2 separate regions of the Homo sapiens genome follow, and region 2 is linked to region 1. The links are contacts of gene promoters, found by promoter capture Hi-C in blood cells and fetal thymus (Javierre and others, 2016). All regions are on one chromosome and are shown on one strand. Each heading gives the region's core, a stretch centred on a gene start or on the middle of the fragment in contact. The rest is flanking DNA. Distances are from core to core; before and after follow the strand shown. Region 1 holds the start of LTN1 (listerin E3 ubiquitin protein ligase 1). Region 2 overlaps GRIK1 (glutamate ionotropic receptor kainate type subunit 1).

Region 1 (3,734 bases), core at 145-2,644:
ACAGTGGTGGGATTACAGGCATAAGCCACTGCACCTGGCTTTTGTGTGCATTTTAAAATCAGGGTCCAGTCAGGAAAACAGAAATCACATTAGTTATTGAGAAATATTTTAATATGGGAAATTGGTCAAAAGGAATTATAAAAGGTAACAGGTAATCACTGCAGGTAGCAGCTACCATTCCTAGAGCTAGGAAAGGATGGAACAAAAGAAGTGGTTGGAGTCATCAGAACCTAAAAGCTTGAAGGAGGGCCCTGAACACCTTAGTTCAGGCCTATGAAGAATGAAGAGAGGGTGATGGCTGGCTGTTACTGGATCTCTGGAGCACAAAGAAGGGATCCCACGGTGTTGAGGCTCAAACTTCTGAGGAGGTGGCTCAAACATTGGCTATCTCAGGAGCTCAGGGGAGGGGCCGCATGAAAGTAGAATTCAGATCTCTGAGGAGAGCACTGACTGCTGCTGTGATCTCTGAGGGGTGCAATAAGGCTGATTCTGTGATTGTTGGAAAAAGGATAGAGATTAAAACCACCTTTTGGCTAAAGCAATTGCTCCTGCCACGGTAAAATGCAGCTGCTGCTGGCATGATGCTTACAGAATGGAGCAAGTCCCTTCTTCCTCTTGCCTTTGTTTCCCTCTTGTTCGTCCTGTTGGTGGAATCTAGCAGAAGCCCCCCCAGTAACATGGAGTTGAGTATAAAAGGGTGACTGCGTGGACAAGAAACAATAACCAGCACACATTTACTTGTTTCTCTGGTGTGATTCTGAGTCGCACAATCAATGGGTTACAGGATTTGTACATTTCAAATTTTAATAGGGACTCCCACATTATCCTCTTTCCTAAACTGCACGTTAACAGTTTCAATATGAATAAAAGGGGACGGGGAGGGGAGATTTAGAGAGAATAGTGCCTACAGCAGTAATCAAATTTTAACAAGACTTGGGAATACTGTCAAAATGCAGGATCTGATTCAGGAGTTCTGAGGGGCCCGAGTTGGCCTTTTCTAAAAAACGCCCAGGTGATACTGATGATTGCATCATGTTGGAAGTCTAAAACACTCCCATCTTCCCACAGCCTCTACCATAACATTCTAATGCTACCCTTATGTGAAACTGCCCCTCTGATGATTCACGCCAGTTTCCTACCCTCTAAGCAAGGAACAAACCTAGCTTCTGAAAGCGGGGAGGACAGGATTTGGCGCCACGGGTCCAATGCTTGGCTTCCTATTGGCCAGGAATGACATCACTCAGACAGGCGTGGCTTTAGCTGTGACGTCTCCGGTGGCGGATGGTCAGGGACACAGCGGGAGGCGGGAGCGGAAGTGGGGCAGCAAATGGACAGGGTGGGTGGCGGAAAAGGGCCCGGGGGAAGTTATTACAGGGTGTCCTCTTCCGCCGCCAGAAGCCGGAAGTTGTGTCCCGGACGTGTCAACCGGGGTCTGAGTGCTCAGAGTACAGCTGCAACCGCGACCATGGGCGGGAAGAACAAGCAGCGAACTAAAGGGAACCTGAGGGTGAGCGGGGGCTGGCTCGGCCGACCCGGGAGCCTCGCTTCGAGGCGGCTGGCTCCGCCCAGCGCGTTGCTGGAGGGTGTGTGGAGCGCGGCTGTAGGGAGGCGTGTGTTTCCCTGTCGAGTGTGACCTCTCTGTTGTGTGTGCGTCCCTGAGAGCGGTTTGTGTTATCTCTGAGCAGATTGGGGAATCGTGAGAGAAAAGATGTACCATGCCAGAGCTGTCCTCATCCGAGCACACACCCATAATATTCATGAAGAAATGATAATGTGTCAGGTTCACTGGAAGGTGATCTGGCCGAGGTAGCGGGTTGGTTGGGGGAGGGCGGCGCTGGGAAGAAGGAGAGTTGGGAGAATGTTAAAGTGAATCCACTGTGGAGGTTACCGCAGATTGTGCCTCTCCTTTGCTACCTACAGTGGCTTCTCCTAAGCTAAAGCTCTTAGGATGGTATATTTGGTTTCTGGACTGCCTGTTACCCCTTTCCATCTGCAGTCCCATCTTCAGCTCCCTCCTCTTGGCTTACTTCATCCAGCCACACTGATCTCTTCACTGTGCCTTGACTACCTGGCCGGCTCCCAACGCTCTTCAGTTAGGTGGCTCCAAACTTTGCTCTCGACACCTCAGTGAGGTCTCCCATGATCACCCTCTTGGTAGCCCTTCCCCACTCCCATGTTCTTCCTACTTTATTTTACTCCATTGTATTTATGACATTTATTGTCTTGGTTCACTAGGACGTAAGTATTTTGAAAGCAAATGTTTTTATCCTCGGAACCTAGAACAGACTGGCACCTAATAGACGCTCACTAAGTACTTGCTTAAGGACGACCTTAAAGTGGATTCGTGTAAAACTACACGATGAGGGGTTTTGTAATGGTATTTTTTTATGGTGTTAGATTTATTATAGCACAGTCCAATTTTATGAGAATGCTTTTTTTTCCTGTTTCTGATGTAGTTAATTCTAGTGATTTCAATGTCACATTTTCTTAGATCTGTCACTTAATCTGTTTTGGAAGATAATAACAGTATTAACAATTATAGCAACCTGTTGTGTTACTGTGCTAAGCACTTTACTTGCATCTTTTAATGTTTTTTATTTAACAGATTTTCTCAAATGTTTTATATTTGAAAAGTTCTTATGAGGAAAAGTTGCAAGAATATTAGAACGACATCCCATATACTCTTTACCTACATTTACCAATTGCTAATACTTGGTTGCATTTGCTTTCTCTCTCTTAATTTATGTATTTTTCTGAACTTATAAGAGTTAGTTGCAGAAGTCGGGACTCTTAACTCCTAAATACATCAGCATGTATCTTCTAAAAACAATGCCATTTTCTAGCCTGCAGCAATTATAATAATGGTTATAGTATGCAGAAACTTTGACTTTTGTATAATACTGTAATCCAGGATACAGCCTTGTATTTAGACTTCTGTAGTTATCCCAATAATGTTCTCTTTTTTCTTTTTTTTTTTTTTGTAAGACAGGGTCGCTCTGTCTCCAAACCTGGAGTGTGGTGGTATGATCATGGCCCACTGCAGTGTCAACCTCTTGGGCTCAAGCGGTCAGTCCTCCCACCTCAGCCTCCTTAGTAGCTAGGACTCCTGGCTAATCTTTTTTTTTTTTTTTTCGGGGACAGAGTCTGGCTCTGTTACCCAGGCTGGAGTGCAGAGGCGTGAACTTGGCTCACTGCAATCTCCGCCTCTCGGGTTCAAGTGATCCTCCCAGCTTAGCCTTTCCAGTAGCTAGGACTACAGGTACAGGCCATCACGGCTAGCTTATTTTTGTAGGGACAGAGTTTTGCCATGTTGCCCAGGCTGGGACTTTTTTAAAAAGATAAACCGTTTTAACATCTGAGATTCAGTCAAGGATCACTCATTCCATTTAGTTACCATTTGGGTTTCTTTGATCTAGACAGTTTCTCAGTACTGTTTAAGCGGGGAGAGGAGTGTCTTTTTTAACAAAATTTGGAAGAGCCTGGGCCATTTGTTTGATTAATTCAGATTCATCTAGTTTTTTCCTTATGATTAGATTCAGGCTAAACAATTTTTAGAAGGAATTCTTCATAGATGATGAGTCTTTCTCAGTGCATCACACACCAGGGGCACTTCGCACCTGTTTGTCCCCTTATTGGTGGTATTTGTTTAATTACTTGGTTAAGGTGTTGTTCATTATAAAGTTATATTTTTCCATTGGCCAATAACAAATAATATGTTAGTTTGAAACTGTGAA
Region 2 (3,281 bases), core at 436-2,935, 650 kb before region 1:
TCTATGGGATACAGACATTTAGTTCTCAAGTGAAGAGTATTTTTTTCCTTTCTGTACTGGAGAAGGATGGAAATATAGTGTAAAGAAGAGGGAGGGCACAGGAGAATACCCAGCTAAGAGTAAGGAAAGACACCTGCTTTGGACTCGTGTCTCTGCTGGTCTCTTCCATGCCTGCACACCCTCTCTCAGTCTGTTCAATGCAACTAAAGGCTGACTCTGATCCATGAGGGTGAGGATAAAGCAGGCGGGATGTATAAGGATTAAGTACCTAGGCTACAAATCTAGGTTGCTTGCAAGCCCAGGATGAGGGTGCAATTTAAGGAAACATTCATTCTTGGGTGAGTATTCTATACTTGCACAAGATTAAGAGGAAATTCTCGCTTAAATTTTGTACCCTGAGCACCTCTCTTACTTTATCCTAGTCCTGGCAGTGACTGCATGGGTTTAAATCTTAGTTCCACTAACACTGATGAGCAATATAACCTGGGCAAGTCTATTGGTCCATTTTCATGCTGCTGATAAAGACATACCTGAGACTGGGTAATTTATAAAGAAAAAGAGGTTTAATGGACTCACAGTTCCACGTGGCTGAGGAGGCCTCACAATCATGGCGGAAAGTGAAAGGCATGTCTACATGGTGGCAGGCAAGAGAAAACTTGTGCAGGGAAAATCCCATTTATAAAACCATCAGATTTCATGAGACTTATTCGCTATCACGAGAACAGCATGGGAAGACTTGCCTCCATGATTCAATTACCTGCTACTGGGTCCCTCCCACAACACATGGGAATTGTGGGAGCTACAATTCGAGATGAGATTTGGGTGGGGACACACCAAAACCATATCAGCAAGTTACTTACACTTCTTGTCTCTCAGTTTTCTTATCTATAAGATGGGTATAGTATCATCTACCCCACAGCATGACTGTAAGGATAAAGAATTAGGCAAATGCTTGTGAAGAATAGTTCAGAAACCTAGTAAGCATCTGAAATACTATTCTCTTGCCATTGGAAGGCACCACTAAGAATAGCCTCATTCAGTTTACTGAAGATGATACCAGGAATTTCAAACTGGCAACAACAACAACAACAACAAAGACATCACAAATAGGCATGAAACAAAATACCTTTTCTGACAGCTACATAACTCTGACACACTGTGCCTAATAGAAAAACATCACACCACCTCCTTTTCCCTGCAGTGATCATGGTTGTGTCCTGAATCGCCATCCTGATTACCTTGATCTTTAACAAGAAAACAGCTGGTTTTCTTTTATCTCCTAGAAGTTCAAGGAGAGGCAGAAGTGACATGAAAGCTTGGGATCAAACACTCAAGAGCCCCCAAGACACCTTATCACTTGTACTTAAGTCGCATAAGAAGGTGAAATTACCAAGCCACATTTAGGCATATTTAAAGAAATAATGAGCTCCAAGATGAGGGACCACACTGAAAATAAGAAGGCATTTTATATTCATTCACTCCAAAGAAGCAAATCTCTCATTTTTAATCTCCACAGTTAGGGGTTACAGGAAGGGAGGGGGGAATGAATCAGAAACCATTGTCAACATTGTGCTCATCCTCTTTTGTCTCCTGAGTCAGGATGTCATATGCTACCTTTGGCAGGGTGTAGGTACCTACAGAGAAGATGGAATGGGGTAACCAGAAGCAATGCCTCAGCCTGCTGGAGGACTGGCACTGAGGAAATTCTGAGACAACCTAAAACATGCAAAAGAGAAAGTGCACGTGTTTTTTCAGATGAGTGCATAACTGAACAAAATTTTGCAAGTATCAGGTTTCATTAGGAAACATGAAATAAGGAACTTGGTCCCCAAATTTCCCCCGCTGCTTCTTTTTTTTTTTTAAGTTATTCTCACTTTGTAAAGAAGTTCCAAAACTAGAGTCAGAAAAAAAAAAATGAAAAGAAGCAAGTCAGCAGATTGAATTTATGGGGTGAAGACCAAATTCATCACAGGAGGTAAACTTCCTGAGCAGAGGTTGTTGCATGTGCGGTAATTTCTGATAACTCCACACACTGTTGGGAATCAGTAAGCTTTTCAGACACATGTTTCCAGCTCACTGCCTTTCAGTGTATGGGGCTGACTAGATAAAGGGGAAGAGTTAAAGAACATATGAAACATGATAGAGTATGTTACTATGTTAGCTCTCCGAGCATTTGCTAAACAAATGCATGCTAGGAGATTATACATTCCCACTCAACAAGCATTACTGGAACTCCACTACATAAGTAATATTAACTTGGCATCTTAAGGGATAACACCCTTGAAAAGTAGAAGAGGTGGCTTCTGCCACCTAGTAATGTAAATTCTACATGGCAGAGGATTGACACGCTTCATTAAAGCTTTTTCTTATACCTCAGGATAAAACATACACTCTTCAGCAGGATATACAGGCTCATGATCTTGTTCCTGATCCCTTTGCCAGCTCTCTCATCTCCTGCTCCATCTGCAGCACCTGCTGAACCTACTGTGGCTCCCTTGAATATGCAATATGCTCCTACCAAATTATTTTAACTCTGATTGCAATGCCGTGCTCCTCTGGGTCATGCTTTACGTCTCAACTCAAGCACTAGCTCCTATCTGCAGGACCCTGACTCACAGATGTAGGCTTTGTACCTCCATTACAACTGTGGGTATGCTATTGTGTTTGTTTCCACGTCTATCTCCAAGCTATGCGTTTTCAGTCTCAATTCCCTAGTTCTTGCACAATGCTGGACATAGAATAAGCACCCAATAAATACATGCCAAACAAGTGAATGAATTGATGAATGAATTAATGAATGAATTAGCAAAGGAACCGAAGAACACACACAATCTATAAGCATGTGCAGTGCTTCAGGACACACTGTGTTCATAAAAATCATATCCAGAAACAATTCAATAAGACAGAGTCAGGAGCTGGACTAGACCTGTCCACCAGGGCCATAGGTTTCGATAGGAGAGTGAGGCAGGGATTTAGGGAAAGACCAACCTATTTAACTCTGGTGCTGGGAACACAGATTCTGAGATTTCATCACACTTTGCTGTCAGTGTGAACTTAGTCAAGTCATTTAGCTTGTTTCTCAGTTCCTCCTTCTATAACATGGGTAATAAAATGCCCACACCATAAGTTTGTAGGGATTACATATTTTATATGTATAGCCTAGCAAAATATTTGTCATGTAGTGATTGTTTAATGAAGGATAGCTACCATCAAATGAAAGGTTCTGTTAAAAAATGAAAAACAGTTTTCCATTTTCAAGAAAAGGAAGTCTATTGGAGTAA

What was found. The method cuts DNA at HindIII sites, captures the fragments that hold promoters and counts their contacts. A CHiCAGO score of 5 or more calls a contact.
Region 2: a fragment that was not itself captured here is called in contact with the fragment with the promoter of LTN1 in region 1 in 1 of 17 cell types (M0 macrophages); the score reaches 5.1 in M0 macrophages.

The regions. Positions count from the first base shown.
Region 1 is chr21:28,990,537-28,994,270 of GRCh38, reverse strand. It overlaps LTN1 (listerin E3 ubiquitin protein ligase 1), which reads left to right and starts at 1,394. Exons shown (of 30, transcript NM_015565.3): 1 at 1,394-1,507. The coding sequence starts at 1,466. LOC105372766 (a long non-coding RNA gene) reads right to left here and starts at 1,168. Exons shown (of 3, transcript XR_007067835.1): 1 at 1,140-1,168; 2 at 590-701; 3 at 90-489. RefSeq lists enhancers at 1,110-1,169, 1,480-1,589. The HindIII fragment of the contact is 7,723 bases long and covers 240-3,734 here.
Region 2 is chr21:29,638,742-29,642,022 of GRCh38, reverse strand. The region is part of intron 7 of GRIK1 (glutamate ionotropic receptor kainate type subunit 1); the gene reads left to right. Among named protein-coding and RNA genes, the nearest start is that of GRIK1-AS3, 17 kb to the left of the region's middle. RefSeq lists an enhancer at 2,112-2,191. The HindIII fragment of the contact is 735 bases long and covers 1,318-2,052 here.